Regions from separate parts of the Homo sapiens genome. Here all the other regions are linked to region 1. The links are contacts of gene promoters, found by promoter capture Hi-C in blood cells and fetal thymus (Javierre and others, 2016). All regions are on one chromosome and are shown on one strand. Each heading gives the region's core, a stretch centred on a gene start or on the middle of the fragment in contact. The rest is flanking DNA. Distances are from core to core; before and after follow the strand shown.

The links. The method cuts DNA at HindIII sites, captures the fragments that hold promoters and counts their contacts. A CHiCAGO score of 5 or more calls a contact.
Region 2: a contact is called between a fragment that was not itself captured here and the fragment with the promoter of SPATS1 in region 1, in 1 of 17 cell types (naive B cells). The highest score is 5.7, in naive B cells.
Region 3: a fragment that was not itself captured here is called in contact with the fragment with the promoter of SPATS1 in region 1 in 2 of 17 cell types (naive B cells and total B cells); the score reaches 8.8 in naive B cells.
Region 4: a fragment that was not itself captured here is called in contact with the fragment with the promoter of SPATS1 in region 1 in 3 of 17 cell types (naive B cells, total B cells and monocytes); the score reaches 8.7 in naive B cells.
Region 5: a fragment that was not itself captured here is called in contact with the fragment with the promoter of SPATS1 in region 1 in 4 of 17 cell types (neutrophils, naive B cells, total B cells and 1 more); the score reaches 8.6 in neutrophils.

Annotation. Positions count from the first base shown.
Region 1 is chr6:44,340,950-44,344,727 of GRCh38, forward strand. SPATS1 (spermatogenesis associated serine rich 1) reads left to right here and starts at 1,701. Exons shown (of 9, transcript NM_001372081.1): 1 at 1,701-1,819; 2 at 2,147-2,285. The coding sequence starts at 2,147. The HindIII fragment of the contact is 2,984 bases long and covers 1,398-3,778 here.
Region 2 is chr6:44,130,833-44,134,554 of GRCh38, forward strand. All of the region lies in intron 1 of TMEM63B (transmembrane protein 63B), which reads left to right. Among named protein-coding and RNA genes, the nearest start is that of TMEM63B, 5.1 kb to the left of the region's middle. RefSeq lists a silencer at 329-488 and enhancers at 2,333-3,298, 2,721-2,890, 3,299-3,722. The HindIII fragment of the contact is 938 bases long and covers 2,004-2,941 here.
Region 3 is chr6:44,149,823-44,153,477 of GRCh38, forward strand. It overlaps TMEM63B (transmembrane protein 63B), which reads left to right. Exons shown (of 24, transcript NM_018426.3): 16 at 37-143; 17 at 402-488; 18 at 742-807; 19 at 2,024-2,186; 20 at 2,771-2,876. Among named protein-coding and RNA genes, the nearest start is that of CAPN11, 7.2 kb to the right of the region's middle. RefSeq lists an enhancer at 2,032-2,201. The HindIII fragment of the contact is 704 bases long and covers 899-1,602 here.
Region 4 is chr6:44,114,302-44,118,014 of GRCh38, forward strand. MRPL14 (mitochondrial ribosomal protein L14) reads right to left here. Exons shown (of 3, transcript NM_032111.4): 2 at 2,240-2,328. The coding sequence starts at 2,310. Among named protein-coding and RNA genes, the nearest start is that of MRPL14, 11 kb to the right of the region's middle. RefSeq lists an enhancer at 2,905-3,074. The HindIII fragment of the contact is 188 bases long and covers 2,006-2,193 here.
Region 5 is chr6:44,181,373-44,185,141 of GRCh38, forward strand. CAPN11 (calpain 11) reads left to right here. Exons shown (of 23, transcript NM_007058.4): 20 at 1,569-1,647; 21 at 1,747-1,863; 22 at 2,333-2,391; 23 at 2,534-3,029. The coding sequence ends at 2,560. Among named protein-coding and RNA genes, the nearest start is that of CAPN11, 24 kb to the left of the region's middle. The HindIII fragment of the contact is 4,304 bases long and covers 1-3,769 here.

The DNA.
Region 1 (3,778 bases), core at 451-2,950:
TGGAGTGCAGTGGCATGATCTCAGTTCACTGCAACCTCTGCCCCCCGGGTTCAAGCAGTTCTCCTTCAGCACCCCAAATAACTGGGATTACAGGTGCCTGCCACCACGCCTGGCTAATTTTTTTTTTTTTGTATTTTTAGTAGAGACGGGTTTCATCATGACGGCCAGGCTGGTCTTGAACTCCTGATCTCAAGTGATCCACCCACCTCGGCCTCCCAAAGTGCTGGGATTATGGGATTATGGGCGTGAGCCACAGCCCCAGCCATCAACTATAATCTTAAATTTTAAAAGCCCAATACAAGAGATATCTATATCTATATCTATCTATCTATCTATCTATCTATCTATCTATCTATCTATCTATAATATGTTAACATATTTGTGCACAGAAAAAGGGTAGAGAGGAAGGAGCCCCTAAATATCAGCAGGGGTGTAAATCACTAGGGGTATATGACATACATGTGCATAGAAAAAGGACAAGGAATAACCCCTAAATATCAGTAGGGGAGATTGTATTTTCTAGGAGGGCCACAAGATCCCCTGTCCCCTGTGCTCTTCATACAGTATGACCATGATGGAGAGGTGTGATCTAAGTTCCCTCTCCATGCATTTGTGACTATGGAGGCAATACAACTTCTGCCTGGTCCTCCTGGGATGCTCACGTTGGAAACTCAGACACTGGTGTGAGAAAGCACATGGAAACGCCACACATGGGTGAACTGGCGCTAACCCTGCTGACCTCAACTGACAACCAGCATCAATCACCAGACACATGAGTGAGGAAGCTCCTCTGTGACCTCTGACTGAGACCCTGTGAGAGACCCCAAGCATGAACAGCCTAGCTTAGCCTAGCCAACGACCAGGATCAGAAATTAAAAATGAATGTTGTTGTTTAAAACAACAGAGTTTGAGGGTGATTTGTTATATAGCAATAGCTATCCAGGAAAAAAGTATTTAACTTCTGTATGGTGAGATCATGGATATTAATAATACTTTTCCATATTTTCCAATATTTCTATAATGACCATTTATTTCTCTTATAATCAGTAACAAAAGAAGGGAAAACTTGGTCTAAACACGAATTTAGGGACTTAAACTAGACTTGGAGAAAAGCTTTCTATGCAAGATTTATTAGATACTGGAAAGGATGAGGAAGACAAATTTAAGTCAATATGATGGAAAGAGTGGTGGATTTGGAATGAGGAAACTTAGAAATGAATCTGTTTTCTGGGTGACCTTGCGCAAGCCTTTGCTAAAATTTGGTTTTCTATTTTGAAAAACGCAGCTGGCTGTTTAAGGAAGATAATATCCACCAGGGCGCCTGGCCCAGAAAAGGCGCTCTGTAAGTGGTAGGTGGATCCTGTCTAATCAACGCCAATTATAACCAGGCATCTGCAAGCTTTGTGGAGGGCGCATCTTTCACTGCTACCAGAGCCTACAGTTCTAATAATGAAAATTGCCTGGAAAAGAACCACAACTCTTAAAAAAAAAAAAAAAGTCCAAAATCACAAAGTGGCTTTTGCAGCGGTCCTTGCCTGTGACGCCGGGCCATGGCTGGAGCTCCTTGCTCCGTACCTCTCAGGAGCCTCCATCCTGTACCAATGGCCAGAGAGCCGGGGGGTGACAGACAGGGGGGCCGGCAGCCGAGCCAGGCAGGACGCTGCGCGCCGCGTTACTGGAGCCGGTGTCCCGGCAACCCCGGAACGCGCCTCTGTGGGAGAAGCAGGCGGCTGCGGTGTCCCTTTTGCCCTAGGCTCTCGGTTCTCAGGCCTCGGCGTGCGGCGTGCGTTCGGCAGTTCAGTTGCCAGTTGGTTCGTTGGTCCGTGGAGGCCTCTGAGCACAGACCCGGGCCTCCCCTGGGGAAGGGGGTGGGAAGACCCCGAGGTGGAAAAGAAGGAGCACCTTGAGCTGGATGGGGGCTGCAGCGAGCCTGGTTCGGGCTGGGGGCGGACTCGCTGGGGCTCCCAGGGCTTCCAAACCACGAAACGCCCAGGTGGAGGGAGTAAGGCTCCCGTTTAGAGGCCAGTCCTGCCCTCCTGACTTTCGGTGGCTTGTGGAATTTGTTTGTTTTGACTGATACCTTTCTTACGAGGGACTTTCTTTGTCTCTGGGTTGCTTCTAATATTTAAAATCATCATGGGCACAGATGAGTCCATCCATGCTCACTGGAAACAGTCCACGGGGCTGCCGTCTCCCCTCCATCTCAAGCACGACCTGCGGCAGACAGCTGGAGAAGGTTCCAGAAAAAAGGGACTCTGGCATGACCGAGGTGGAGAGGACCTACAGTTGAGTTCTAAGAAATCCAGGCTGTGGAGTTGGTGGCCACATCCAAGTATACTACACCCGGGGGCGGGGGCAGGTGGGGGGCACCATTTGAAGTTTAGAAGGAAGCTAGTTTGGGGGCATGTAAAAAGAGCTGCTTGAATAGTAGCTTATGTTTGTGCTAACCCAAGATTTGATTAGGCAGAGAGCACCACCAAAGCAGAGAGTCTCATAAATTACCTCACTGGATCTCACAGCAGTGGAGAAGTATATTACCTATGAGTAAAGGGAGCCAGAGATTTGACCTGCCCAGTGCTTGGGTTAATAAAAGGTGAGCCTGGGATTTGACATGAGCCTGGGATTTGACATGAGTCTGCCATACTTTCGAGCCTGTGTCCTTTCATCTTTCCTTTGCTCAGATATTAGTAGGTTTGTGTCATTGTTTATTGGATGGGACAGTTCAGGTGAGAATTATGAACACTCTAAAAATTAAATAATGGCTGGTAGCTCCATAATTGGTTAAGGCCGAGGAGGGTATTTGGGGGCACGTTTGCCTTTGGAGAACAGTGTCATGGCGCTGAACAGCCACAGTCTCCCAGAAAAGCTCAGAGTGCGCCTGCGCTCAAGTTCTCATTTACCTGTTATGGGTGAGTGGCCTGAGTGCTGCAAAAAGGGGTTGTGAAATATCCAGACTTTGCGGGATCAGATCTTAGCTTTCTCCCTGGTCTTCTGTATTCTGGGTGTGTGATCTCCTCATTCTCCTTCACAGTGGGGAGAAAGGAGGGAGGTACAACTCATTCCACCCAGCTATTAATATAAGCTAGGACCGTAGAGAAGGAGGAGCTGGAGGAGTTAGAGCTATTAATTGTCCAAGTGTGTCTGCAACAGCAAGGAGAAAAGGGTTCTGGGATTCTAACTTTAAGCTCCAGACCTTCCTGCAGTTTCCAGTTTGGGGTAAAGGAAGAAGCTGCTGTTTTAAGGATGTCCTAGGGAGGATCCATGTTTTCGAGTTAGGGGTAGCAGAAGGGTACCAGGTCCCAGACCACATTAATGAAAGACCCATGGTGTCCTTTCCTGCTGTGTAGGTGAGTCTATTCAGGAGAATACATCTGAGTTTAGCTTAACATGGAGTCTATGGATTTCAGCAAGGAAGGGGCTCCACAAACCAATTGAAGATACGTGTGTGTGTGTGTGTGTGTGTGTGTGTGTGTGCATTTTTCCATCAGAGAACCGATTGCTTTCATTACTGCTCATGGGGGAGAGGATAGAATCAAAAAACGGGTTAAAAACTTCTGTCCTTGATCCTTAGGCCCCTTGTGAAGCAGATAAGCAGGGGTGGGAAATAGTGTTTGGTTAAATGAGTATCCATGTTAAACAAACATGGCTTGATGTATTATTTTTCTCCCTGCCAGACAGAGCTATTATGACAATCAGCTGAGATGACAAACATATGAAAGTGCTTTGGTTATGTAAGGTGTTATTCCTGCCTAAAAAAATGGAAATAATTATCCTGAAT
Region 2 (3,722 bases), core at 1,223-3,722, 210 kb before region 1:
CCTCCAACTCCTAGGCTCAAGGTATCTTCCCCACTTGGCCTTCAAAAGTGCTGAGATTACAGGGGTGAGCCACCCCACCCTGCCTACTACTACTTTTTTTTTTGAGATGGAGTCTCACTCTGTCGCCCAGGCTGGAGTGCAGTGGCATGATCTAAGGTCACTGCAACCTCTGCCTCCTGGGTTCAAGTGATTCTCCTGCCTCAGCCTCCCGAGTAGCTGGGACTACAGACGCATGCCACCACACCCAGCTAATTTTTGTATTTTTTTAGTAGAGACGGGGTTTCACTGTGTTGGCCAGGCTGGTCTCGAACTCCTGACCCTGTGATCTGCCCAGCTCGGCCTCCCAAAATGCTGGGATTACAGGTGTGAGCCACCGTGCCTGGCACCTACTACTACTTTTATGCTCACTTGTGGATATATTCTTGCCTTTCTCTCTGAAGTGGGTAGGGGTAGAGTAAGGATATTTGTATCTCTTTGTTACAGATTGGAAGACTGAGACTCAGGTTTCGTAGTAACAGAGCTCGCTTCCATCTTCCCCTCCTCCCCTCAGACCACATGGCCTTGCTTTGATCCAAAGCCCTAACTTAAATCTTGCCCAGTAACTCCACTGAAAAAGCTTATATCACTCCTGTAATCCCAGCACTTTGGGAGGCCGAGGTGGGCAGATCATGAGGTCAAGAGATCGAGACCATCCTGGCCAACATGGTGAAACCCTGTCTCTACTGAAAATACAAAAATTAGCTGGGCGTGGTGGCATGTGTCTGTAGTCCCAGCTACTCAGGAGGCTGAGGCAGGAGAATCCCTTGAACCCAGGAGGCAGAGGTTGCAGTGAGCCAAGATCGCGCCACTGCACTCCACTCTGGTGACAGAGCGAGACTCCGTCTCAAAAAAATACACAACAACCCCCCCAAAAAAAAGCTTATAAGTTATAGCTCTCCAACCCCCACCATGCACACACTCCTTAATGGTAAAATTAAAAAGTTAGCTAGAAGTAAAATGCTCCATCACTCTCTGGACACACCTCAACCAAAACCTCAATATCAGACTAGAGAAACTGGGATATAGCTGGTGCAGGCACCTCGTGGAGTGGAAGAACTGCCACCTCCCATCCCCAAGGTATTCTGCCTCAATGTCTTCCCTCTTCTCAGTTGCTCAGCCCAGTGCTGGCTTTGAGAGCAGCTGCCCTTGATGAAACTCAACCCAGCAACCCCACCCCCACAATTAAAAGCTTGGAGCAGCCCTGTCAACTGGCAGAGCTGCCAGCCCAGGCTCCACCCCTTACCTGTCCTGTCACTGTGCAAGTTGCTTCCCCTACTGGGTTCCTGCTTCCTCCCTGTAAAATGGGGATAGTGATCTGAGTGTGCCCTGCCTTCCTCCCATGCAGGTGGGAAGATTAATGCTGTTGTGGAGGGGAGAGTACTTTGTGACCCCAAGGAGGCGGACAGCAGAGGAGCATGGTGATTTCAGTTACTAACCATCTAGCTAGATCCTGTCCACCCTGCTGGGGCCACTTCATGTAGAAGCTTCCAAAATGCTCTACCTTTCTTTGGTGTGGAGAAGACAGGAGTTGATAGGAATGGTACTCTGGGGCTTGTTCTCATTTCATTCTGATCTGATGGAGCCTTGGAATTCAGAGAGAGAAACAGGCAAGGGGTGGGAATAGAGTGTTGAGATTGCTGGAGTACATTGGAGTTGAGAATTGAGAAAGGGGGACTAGTTAGAGTCCCCCCAACCCAAGATACCTATACCTACCTTTAACCTCCCATAGTGCCCCAGGGTTCTGTGCATCTTATGTTTACATACCCGGGCTCCCAGACACACCCATGTTCACACCCCCACTTCGAAGCCAACAACTCCCTTCATTTCCGTGGACTGCCATGCAGTCACCTAGCTCCTCCTGGACACAGGTCCACACATCAACACACATTTACATACCTGGACACACACATTTCCACAGCACCCACAGGTTCTCTGGCCTGAGAACATTTAATGAGCATTTATAAAGCTTCCATGGTCTGCCGAGTCCTGTTCTAGGAACATCAGAAAAGCACCGTGGTGCCCTGAAAATCATTCTAGCTTTAGAAAGAAGGTGAGCTAGGTTTGAGTCCTAGGTCCCTCATTTTATTAGCAGTGTGACCTTGGGAAAGTTACTTAACCTCTGAGGCCCTGTGCCCCCACCCTAAAATGTCAGTGACACTCAATTCAGGATCGTCGAGGATTAAATGAAATCATGTAATATATTATTCTTGAAACTGAGGGCACTGGACAAATGGTACCCAATACAATTACTAAATTAGTGTGTTTTTAAAGGCAGCTTGGACTGGAAAAGGAAGAGGCATAACACACCAGCACACACTCCTTTAGTCTTCCTAATCCAGGCTTTGCAGAGACTCCCTGGGACCAAGTGAAACACATAAACAACTCCATCCTCCCCTCCATCTGAGGGCTTCTGCCTCTTGCCCTGTGGTTGAAGTGTTAGGAAGAGGCAGGAGAAACCCTCTGAGTCCCCCTGGGGGCTAAGGGATGCTGCTCCCGAAGTTGCAGTCACTGTTTCTAGTTTTGTTGTTCTCTTTGGTTTTCCTTTTTCTTCCCTGAGGACCTCCTCCCCTGCTCCACAGCCCGCCCCCGAGGCAGAGCTTCAGTGTTGTCAGCAGAAGGGTCCCCCAGGGACCCCCCAGTAAAATGGGTGGGGCAGTGCTGCATCTGTTGAGGCCACACTTCTCCGCTATCCTGGGATCCTCCCCAGGGCCCCACTCTGCTCTGTCCCCAAGCACTTTGAGAACCCAGGCACTCAGGCTGGCTGTCCCTTTTCTCCTCCTGCCCACCCCATCCACTCTGAGCATCAATGCAGCCGGCCAGTTGCAGGCAACCAGGCAGCACCCTGGCTGCCCAGGCAGGCTAAGAGGCCCCCACCCACTCCCCCCTCCTTTGCCAGTGGAAAAGCTTGCCGTAGGGCATAGCTTTCCCAGCCTTCCCTGCTTCAGAGGCAGGAGCATGGCACTCTGGGAGTTGTAGTGCTCATAACACTCAGGCGATCCCTGTGCAAATAACTGGAGAGAGGACTATGGTATGGGGAAGAGAAATGAGAATAAGCAGGAGTGGCTGGGGCCAGGCAGGTAACTCAAACCCAGAAGTCCTACTATTTACTTGACTTCCTACTCTGACCCATCGTCGAACCTAAGCCAGTTATATTGAGTTCAAAACTCTAACCAAATGAAATCATGCCATTTTTTCTAATAGGCATAGAAAGAAAAGATCAGGATGAGGCAGCTGGCTCCTGACCCATTCTCCCCTGACGTGGAGACCCCTCATCTTACCCTTGAGTCCTCAGGCCTAAGACCCCTCCCTGTCTTCCCAGGCTCAGCTCCGCCCCCTGCCCTAAGACAGAGAGAATGAGAGTGTGGGGGTGGCGGCGGCAGGGGGGATTTAGATAGATGTTAGAAAATCACAGATACCTTCCAGCTTAATGAAACCAGCCTCCCCAGTCCAGGCCTGGCATCTAGACTGAGTTCCCCAGACCCAGGGTGGGGTCATAGCCAGAGAGCCAGTGAAGGTAAATCCATGTGACTCAACTCTCCCCTCCCTAGGCCCTTATCTCCAGAGGCCAGAGCTTCCATCCACCCAGGCAGCCTGGTGATCTGTCCTCACTGCCCCCTCCCCACGCCCACCCTACTGGGCCATGAAGGGGATGGGGGCAAGCCCAGCTGACTGCTCCACCCTCT
Region 3 (3,655 bases), core at 1-2,500, 190 kb before region 1:
CTGCCCTGCCTGACGCCCCCCTGTGCCCTGCTGCAGAACCCCATCATCACCCAGTTCTTCCCCACCCTGCTGCTGTGGTGCTTCTCGGCCCTCCTTCCCACCATCGTCTACTACTCAGCCTTCTTTGAAGCCCACTGGACACGGTAAGGTGCCTCCACTCACACCACACCTCGCTGTGGCCTGCCCTCAATGACCCATCCTCTCTGGGCAGCACTTTGCCCTTCAGGCTCCTGGCCCTGGGCAGTCCCACAGCTGGTAGGGAAGGGGTAGTGCCCAGCACCCTCACCTTGGGAGGCCCACCCTTCCCAGGGGACACTCCTTGGACATTGTCCTTGTTGGGGGAGCAAGTCTGGGGCCTGGGCTCACTTGACCTGTACCGTTCCCTGCTCCCCTCCCTCCAGCTCTGGGGAGAACAGGACAACCATGCACAAGTGCTACACTTTCCTCATCTTCATGGTGCTGCTCCTACCCTCGCTGGGACTGAGCAGGTGAGTTGAGAAGGATGGGGCAGGAGCCAGGGTAGGGGGACAGCAGGATAGGGAGAGGAGAGCAGTTCAGCCTCCCTACCTCCCCTACAAAGCAAGGGGCCCAAGATGGGAAGCCTGGCCACCCCCAGGCCTCCTGAGCTACCCACCCCATGTCTGGGAGTCTCCCCAGTGGCTCACAGAGGAGGGACTTCCCCTCCCCTGGTGTTCTGTACCACTCCAGCTCCCACCCCATCTCTCCTCTGCTTCCCTCCAGCCTGGACCTCTTCTTCCGCTGGCTCTTTGATAAGAAATTCTTGGCTGAGGCAGCTATTCGGTTTGAGTGAGTGACTGGGGCCCCTAGGGAAAGAGACCAGACAGCAGGGGTGGGTATGCTTGAGAGACATTGCCAGCCCCATGGGAGGGTGCAACAAAGCTTCCAACTCCTGGAGGGGGCAGAAGAGAGAGGATCTGGCGGGGTTACCCCAAAGGCACCCACAAGGTGTCTTGGGTGTGTATACATGGTAGAAGTCCCTGGGGTCTGTGTTGGTGTTCACTCTCTGGTAACCTGTTTGGATGCTAAGATCATCCTCAAGGTATATTTGGGGCTTGGGGCTCCACATTCTGGTAGTTTCTATGGGGGTGTCTTGTGCCCATATTCTGGGACTAACTGTGGGCGTCTCTGGAGTTCCACTTGGGAGGTTTGGGGAACCATCTCTAGGGAGGTCTTGGTGATACTTAGGGAGTGTCTTGGAGGCTACTAGGGGTATCCCTGAAGGTCTCTAGAGCCCATATTTTTGGGTATGTGTAGGAGGCTCTTGACCTTATAACTCTGGGGGTGTCTGTGGGCGGGGAGGCTAAAGGACTCACACTTTGGGATGTTTAGCAGTACAAGTTCTGGGAACATCTCTAAAATTTCAGGCTTTTATTCAGAGATGTAACTGTGGAGTTCTGTATGGGCATCTTCTCTGGGAATCATGTGAGGATATATTGAAGGTCATGCACCATGGCTGTGGGCACAAACTCTAGGGGTTTTGCTGTAGGCCATCTGTGGTGATCTTTGAGTCACACTTGGGGCATCTCAGGCACTGATAAAGGTTCCTGGGCTCCCCCAGAGATGTTGCGGGAAGGGTCTCAAAGCTTGTTTGTGGAGGTATCTGAGGCTCATGTCACACTCTGGGGGTAACTCGAGTTATGGTCTAAGTGGGGGAATCTTCTGGGTGTTCCTGGGGCTGTCAGCCTTTGGGTTCTTTGAGGGTCTCATTGGGTTGTCTTTGGGGGTCCTGGACAGTTCTCCCCTGAACATTCTAGCAGCCTTAGGTGGTCTTGAGCACTCTCTCCATGGGTCTTTATGGGGCACAAGTTCTTGGAGCTGTCTGTTGCCACTCTGTATGTCTCTGGGGGGAACAGGGCACAGGTGCTTGGGGCGCTAAGCTGGGGGTGTCCACATGGAAGAAGCATGTTGGTGGTGGAGGTGTTGGGTGCTGTAGTTCTGGCAGTGGGCGGGCGGCCACCGGGTCACCCCAAGGGTGCAGTGCTGGAGCACCTGGTGCCCGCAGGTGTGTGTTCCTGCCCGACAACGGCGCCTTCTTCGTGAACTACGTCATTGCCTCAGCCTTTATCGGCAACGCCATGGACCTGCTGCGCATCCCAGGCCTGCTCATGTACATGATCCGGCTCTGCCTGGCGCGCTCGGCCGCCGAGAGGCGCAACGTGAAGCGGGTACGGCCGCCTGGGGCAGCAGCGGCCCGCACAGCGCCCCCTGGTGGCCCAACAAGAAACAGCAGCCATCGCGCTAGGGTTGAGGGGCACAGGAGGGCTGAGACTTGGGGAGTACAGTTGACTCACGGTGGATCCGGGCCATCCCCTTCCCATATCTGGGGCCTTCGTATTCTGCCATGGGTGGACATAGGTAACCCTGAAGGCCCCTGCCAGTTCTGACAGTAGCATTCTATGATGGGAGTTGGGGAGATCTGGGTCCCTAGCGCTAGGGTCCCTCTGTCTTAATAAGAGGGCTCTGGGCATCCCACTCTCAAGTCCACCCAACTCTTGCCCCCTACCTGCCAGGCCCCGACCCTTGAAGGCCCCTCTCCGTGCCCCATCACTGCAACCGCCCTGACCCTCCTCTCGGCCATAGCCCCTCTCTCCATCTGCTCTGCCCTACCCTACCCTAGACATTAGGTCCTGTTCCCCATGGCTTCTTTTCCGGCCCCAGAGGTCCTGGCTCCCTTCCCCCTCCCTCCTTCCCTGCCCCTCTGGTCAGTCCCTGCCTCCCTGAGCCATCCTCCTGCCCGTCTCCCCCCCAGCATCAGGCCTACGAGTTCCAGTTTGGCGCAGCCTACGCCTGGATGATGTGCGTCTTCACGGTGGTCATGACCTACAGTATCACCTGCCCCATCATCGTGCCCTTCGGTAGGCACCGCCGCGCCGGGACCTGGGCCCTGCTCGGGGGGACCCAGGACTTCACCCTCTCCACTCTAGGAATGCAGGCCACCCCGAGTGGACAGGGCCCGGCTGGGAGACCGGCCCCTCGGGGCTCCCGCCCGGTCCCTGGCTCAGTCTGGGGCCTGGCCTGTGGGGAGGAGGGGGAGAGCCATCAGCTCAGGCCAGACCCAGCTGGCATGTGGGCCCCAGGGCAAAGTCACACCAACATGGCCATACTTACCCACACCTGTGCCTTCCCTCAGCGGGATGTGCTTGGACACAGATCACATACGTGCTGACATGTTCACACACACACTCCCACACAGGCATCCATGTGCACACTTTTACACCACCCTGTAAACTCAGGAAAGACTTGGATTCCAGGGTGGGATGGGTCCTTGCCACTCATGGAGATAGTCTGCTGTATCTGAGCTATGTGACTTGGCCAGGTCTCTCTTCCTTTTTGAAGTTTAGCAAAGTTTCTCTTTAACCATCACCCCCACTGGTAGCCTCTACTTTCCTCCCTAATAACATCCTAACTCCTTAACCAACCCTCCCTGGTTATTGAAGGCTCCAAGTTCCCAAACTAACTTCCTTGTCCTCATTAGAAACTCCCTATCCCTCAGCCTCTGGGGAAATAGAACTTGTCCCTTAATTTATACGTATCTGTTTAGGGACAGGGTTAGAGAAAAATGATACGGGTTTTAAGAAGATGCTTGTTGATTCAAATGACTAGATTTCCAATAGTAGAATTCCTGATGAGGAGA
Region 4 (3,713 bases), core at 850-3,349, 230 kb before region 1:
TGTCAGCAACACACACAGAGCAGAGTGCTGTCCAGGAGCAGCAACAGAAAGTCAGGACTTTGTGAAGACTTATCTGTACCCACAACAGTTTCCTCACAATTGAGAGCTTCTGCTGTTGTGTCAAGGTCTCAATTTGGATGGGTTTTAAAGAGAACCCAATTTTTCTGTGACAATGAACTTCACAGCAGCCATAACTTAAAGCCTTTGCTTTCCAAAAGGACTCTAAGGACTTAAAGGAATCCCTTATGGGCTAGGCCTCACCCACTGCCTATCCTGAAAAACCTGCTTCCCCAGAATACACCATTCCCTAATTTTCTTTTTTTTTGAGACGGAGTCTCGCTCTGTCGCCCAGGCTAGAGTGCGGTGGCGCCATCTCAGCTCACTGCAAGCTCCACCTCCCGGGTTCACACCATTCTCCTGCCTCAGCCTCCCAAGTAGCTAGGAATACATGCGCCTGCTGCCATGCCCAGCTAATTTTTTGTATTTTTTAGTAGAGACAGGGTTTCACCGTGTTAGCCAGGATGGTCTCGATCTCCTGACCTCATGATCCGCCCGCCTCGGCCTCCCAAAGGGCTGAGATTACAGGCGTGAGCCACCGCGCCCGGTCCCCTAATTTTCTTATTTACATGTTGCTGGGAACTAGAAGATATGGGTAAGTTTACTAAGGGAATTCTCTGACACAACATACCAGAAACTGGTAATAAGTCAAGGTAACAATCTTCTGTTTTAATACATTTTTTCTCATTAGAAAAAAAAATTTTAGAGAGTACTTATTGAAGGCAGACAAGGTATTATTAAGCAAGCTGATTACAGTGGGATTCCTATTTTCCTGATGCTAGCACCTGATGCTGGTGTTTCCGCAGGGTAATCCTAGGACCTCTTCTCTCGTTTTTTATGCCTACTCTGGGCAATCTTACCCATTAGCATTGCTGCCAACTAGTAAATTCCATCTCCAGCCCCGCCTCTCTTCTATATTCTAGTTCTATATATTTCCACTCTCCTCAACTCCCTACAACATGCTCTATAGATACTGCAAACTCAGTAGGTCCCAAACTCATCTCACTGCCTCCCCTTGCAAACCTCCGCCTGCTGCTACACTTATCTAGACGATGGCTTCTCCAGCAGTACCAGAAGCCAAGCCATAAACCTCTCTCCACCAACATGAACTGGCCACCAAGTCCTGTTAATATCACCCCCTAAGCACCTATGTCCTTTCTCTCCAATCCCGCCAACAACTTCCTTCATTTAGCAGCTCACTCTCCTACACCAAGACTGTGACATTAGTGTCCTAGTTGGTTCCCATTGCACTTCACTTTGCCAACAAAGAGCTCTCTTTAGAATATAAAAGTGATGCTACTCCCCACCATCTACACTGTCAACAACCTTGTCCCAATTTACCTACCTTCTAAGGCTACACATCCTACCACTCTGGGCAGGAGAACCAGGAACCACTTCCCCAAGCACACCCTGCCTCCCAATTCTCCCTGGAGGCCTAGACAGGATCTGCCCCCATCTCCCTTTTGAGAAGACTGCCTCCACTCTTTCTCCTCCTCTTCCTCCACTAGCAGCTCCTATATGACGCCTTCCAAAGCACTGTACAATCCTCTATTATAATATTCTATCACATTTTCTTAGAGTTACTTATTTTCAAGTTTGCTCCTGTGGCTGACAGTGAGAATTCTTTCAGGACAGAAAGCAACTCTCTTTCATCTCTGTATGGCCAACCCCAGGTGCGGTGCTCAGGAAATGCCTGTGGGATGAGGGCATGACGGGGCCAGGAGGCATGTCTGCCAACAAGCGTGCCTCCTGTGCTCTCCTGGCTTAGCATCTACAAGGAGGGGAGGGTGTCACACTTCTATCATGCTCAAGTTCTTGGTAATAAGCATGTATTATTTTTGTAATTAAAAAAATTCCGTTTTTAAAAGGATTTTAATGCTCTAGGGGAATGATAGGGTTGAGAGATGTCAGATTCACTGTAAGAGTCTTGCAAGGACTGAAGAGTAAAAGCTTCCGCCATATGCCATTCCCCATCACACTTCTAACAGCAACATCACCTCTTTACCTATCCCCCATCCTGTGACCAGACCAACCAGGCCAGCTCAGCCTGATCACTTTAGCTTTCCCCAACCCCATGCCCACCTCCCTGAGTTTTTACTCCTGTTCTAGTCACCGTAATACCCAGCCCTGATAGGAAGCTTACACAAAGACACAGTTTTAAGAACTTAATGGGAAAAGTTACCTGAAACAGTGATGGCTCAGCACTCTGCTTACACAGGTGAAGGGGCCCCAGAGCCCAGTAAAGAAAGCCATGGGATCCCAAGATAGATCCTGCAGGAAAAACGAGAGGGGGAAAAATTGGTTTCTAAGTCAGAGCCCTTAAAGCCAGTTTTCTTTGGGGACTTGTGTGGGAGATGGCACTTCCAGCACAAGATCATTAGTCACAAAATATAAATCTTAGTGGTTAAAGGATACACAGATGATTAGACAGAGCTGTAGCTCCGATTTTGCTGATTCACATTCTAACTCTGGGGTTGGAGAGGGAGAATGGCCCACAACAGCTTCTGCTATAAAAAAATACAACAGCACGGAGAATGCCTTCCTTATTATATCACTTCCACAGGCAGGAGGAAAATATGAGCCCTTGGTTATAAACCCAGCCAGGGACTTCTTCTCGAGTCCTCCATAGAGGAAAAACTGCACACTATTGCCCTTTTTGATATTCATATGCCTTCTGAAACCAGCACTTTAACTCCCTAAAAGAAAGTAAATTATCTAAGCAGCCACCCAAGTTGTCTATCACTACATCACCTTTCCCCCAAATGTAAAGGCCAGAACACCTGTACAGCTCAAGGCCAGCAAAGCAAAGCCAAAGGCTGCTCTTGCCAAGTCAAAGACCAAAGTCTTTATTTGGGTCAGTCTCCCAAACACTGTAACATGGAAAACTGACCTACACCATACTACAGCTGAAAGTGGGCTTTGGGAAACCAACTTGAAGAGTTAGCTAAAAGAGCAAACACCAACCCAAGACTTGTGACTCCAGTTTTCAGAATCTCAACCCTGTTGCTCCCTAGCACTAACAAATATGGAGGCTGCCAGTGCCCTGAAACACCTGAACATCACTTCAGAGCATGCTTCAGAAAGGCCTGTAGCCAGCTGCAAAACACACCTGTTTTTCCACCCAAACGTTTGGCAGCAGAGGTGCCCATTCAAGAGGTCTGCCGAGAAAAGCCTCTACACTGTAGTATTTACACACAGCTTTGCTATGCACAAGTTCAAACCACCTCAGATAAGATTTTATTTAATAAGAATGTTAGGGTGGGGCAGGGGAATCCACTCCTCCCCAGGAATACCTAGACACTCCATACTTTTTTTTCTTTCCTTGAGACAAGTCTTGCTCTGTCACCCATGCTGGAATGTAGTGGTGCAACTGCAGCTCACTGCAGTCCCGAACTCCCCAAGCTCAGGTGATCCTCCCACCTCAGCCTCCCAAGTAGTCAGGACCACAGACATGCACCAGGACGCCTGGCTAATTTTTTGTGTTTTTTTTTTTTTTTTTTTTTTTTTTGTAGAGATGATGGTCTCACTATGTTGCCCAGGCTGGCCTTGAACTCCTGAGTTCATGCAATCCTCCCGCCTCAGCCCCGCAAAGTGCTGGGATTATGGGTGTGAGCCACCCACCACACCTGGCCTTTAAATGCTTATTAACTACAATT
Region 5 (3,769 bases), core at 468-2,967, 160 kb before region 1:
GAGAGATGGAACTAATGAGGGGAAGCTAGAACCCAAGCCCTAACCACACACACACACACACCCAACCACACCACACTCACACACACACACACACACTCACATACAGACACAACCACACCACACACACACACACACACTCACATACAGACACAACCACACCACACTCACACACACACACACTCACATACAGACACAACCACACCACACATACACACTCACATACAGACACAACCACACCACACTCACACACACACATACACACTCACATACAGACACAACCACACCACACTCACACACACATACTCACATACAGACACAACCACACCACACTCACACACACACACACTCACAGACACAACCACACCACACTCACACACACACATACACACTCACATACAGACACAACCACACCACACACACACATACACACTCACATACAGACACAACCACACCACACACACACACACTCACATACAGACACAACCACACCACACACACACATACACACTCACATACAGACACAACCACACCACACTCACACACACATACACACTCACATACAGACACAACCACACCACACTCACACACACACATACACACTCACATACAGACACAACCACACCACACTCACACACACACATACACACTCACATACAGACACAACCACACCACACACACACATACAGACACAACCACACCACACACACACACACATACACACTCACATACAGACACAACCACACCACACACACACACACATACACACTCACATACAGACACAACCACACCACACTCACACACACATACACACTCACATACAGACACAACCACACCACACTCACACACACACATACACACTCACATACAGACACAACCACACCACACACACACACACATACAGACACAACCACACCACACACACACACACACACACACACACTCACATACAGACACAACCACACCACACACACACATGAAAAGGGTCTGTTGGAGTGTGGCATATTACCCAGTCAAAATATTTTATAACAAGTATAGCTCAGGTATCATCTAGTCATGAAGGATGCACACAAAGAGCGCTGGGCAGGGCACCAGTGCCCCCGACAACCCATGCTTGGAATTAACCCTTAGGTCACCAGATGATAGGAATATCAGGAGTGGGCCAGGGTTGGAGGGGGGCATGGGGTCTTAGGCCACTGCTGTGAGCCAACTGTCCTAAAGTATTTCTTTTTCTTTTTTTTGAGACGGAATCTCACTCTGTTGCCCAGGCTGGAGTGCAGTGGTGCGATCTCTGCTTACTGTAACCTCCGCCTCCTGCCTCAGCCTCCTGACTAGCTGGGATTACAGGCATGCACCACCACACCCAGCTAATTTTTGTAGTTTTATTAGAGACGGGGTTTCGTCATGTTGGCCAGGCTGGTCTCAAACTCCTGACCTCAGATGATCCGCCTGCCTCGGCCTTTCAAAGTGCTGGGATTACAGGCATGAGCCACCGCGCCCGGCCTCAGTATTTCATTATTTCAACCACCATGCCATGCATGTGGCCCTACCATATCTGTCTGTCTCTTCAGGACATCTTCAGAGAGTGTGACCAGGACCATTCAGGCACCTTGAACTCCTATGAGATGCGCCTGGTTATTGAGAAAGCAGGTGGCCAAGGGTCAGGAGTGGGCCTTGGGGCAGGGAAGAGGATGGCAGTGTCCAGAGGCCCAGACTTTTCCCCTCCCCACTTCTCTCTCCCTCTCTCAGGCATCAAGCTGAACAACAAGGTAATGCAGGTCCTGGTGGCCAGGTATGCAGATGATGACCTGATCATAGACTTTGACAGCTTCATCAGCTGTTTCCTGAGGCTAAAGACCATGTTCAGTGAGTTAGGCATCTACCCACTCCCCAGCCTAGGCCAGGGGCCGCGGGCCCTTTCCCAAACACCCACCCTGATGGGTGCTGCTCCAGATCCCCTCCCCCTTACAAGGCACACATGAAATGGATTCAAAGCCCAGCTCCGCCACTTGCTGGCAGAGGTGACTTGAGCAAGTCACTTAATCTTTCTGTGCCTCCATTCCCTCCTCTTTAGAATGTGGATAATAATAGTACTGCCCTCAAAGGACTGAGGTGCAGGTTAAACCAGTTAGTCTATGGAAGGCAATCAGAACTGGGCCTGGCTCCTGGTGAGGCTATGTGAGTTGCTATCATTAATTCCCCACTTGGCTAGGGGATTTATGTGGGGAACAGCCAGGAACACCTGGTGTCGCCCCTTCCTACCTAGTTGGGAGTGGTTCTTTCGGAACACTGACTTAGCATTCAGCCCCTCTCCCCCGCTTCCTCTGTAACGCAGCATTCTTTCTAACCATGGACCCCAAGAATACTGGCCATATTTGCTTGAGCCTGGAACAGGTACTTGGAGAAGGGTGGGAAGGAATCTGCAGGATTGCACCTGCCTGCCCCTCAACCCCACCCCCACCCAGCTCTGATGTCCCCGGGCCAGCATCCTGCCCCCGTCTCTTCCCACCCTGGGATCTGCTTCCTGTCTCCACAGTGGCTGCAGATGACCATGTGGGGATAGAGGCGCTGTAGGAGCCTGGTCATCTCTACCAGCAGCAGCAGCAGCGAGGTTCTAGCCCAGGAGGGTGGGGTGCTTCTTGTAGCCCTCAGCTCTCCGGTCTCTGCTGATGAAATGGGCTCCAGGTGGCAGTGCCCGGGTCCCAGGTGCCGTGTTTACTGCAGCAGTGGGACCTCCGTGCCCACTCCCCCAGCTCAGAGGCTTTCTCTTTTTTCCCCAACCCGGCTTCTGATGGCTGGCTTTCCCCCACCATCGCTCTCTCAGAGTATATTTTACTAAAGAGTAGTTGATGCTTCCCCAGGGTCCCCCTGGCTGGGGAGGCCAAGAATAGGGAAGGGACTTGTAGCCCGTTTCTTACCCTCCATGCTTGCTGTCCTGCTCACACCTACCTGCTGACCACCCATCCTGGCACAGCCTCTGTTTTCCTCCCCATCTGTGGATACTATTCTAATAAATAGCACATGCCATTGGCTTCCATGTCTCTGTGTTTTTATGCCAAGAAAAGACTGGCAAGGGTGGAAGTCACTTACCCAGGACCAAAGGATTGGGTAGCTCTCAGCCAAGGGTGATAGGGAGCATATAGAAATGTGCAGTTGTCACAATAACTAGAGGCCATAGTTGGCGTTTATGGGCAGTGCCAGATGCTAAGCACACAAGTCCCTCCCTGTGAAGAACTGTGTGGTGTGCCCTATGGTGGAGCGCTTCTACGGGGGCTGAGCCAGGGCTCCAGGACTCTCATCTGCTGCTTCAAACTGGGGTCCCCAAAGGTGGCACTGCAGGAGCCTCGAAGGTTAAAAATCTGACACCTGCAGCCAGCAGGTCACATAAATGAACGAACTGCCGGGCGCGGTGGCTCACGCCTGTAATCCCAGCACTCTGGGAGGCCAACGCAGGTGGATCACCTGAGGTCAGGAGTTTGAGACCACCCTGGCCAACATGGCAAAACTCCGTCTCTGCTAAAAATACAAAACTTAGCTGGCCGTAGTGGCACGCGCCTATAATCCCAGCTACTTGGGAGGCTGAGGCAGGAGAACTGCTTGAACCTGGGGGGTGGAGGTTGCAGTGAGACAAGATCATACCACTTCACTCCAGCCTGGGTGACAGAGCAAGACTCTGTCTCAAAAACAATTTAAATAAATAAATGAACAAATCCTCCTCGTGTGGGACTGGGAAGGCTGAGGACTGTGGCAATAGGTGAACTCGTTCCTGCCT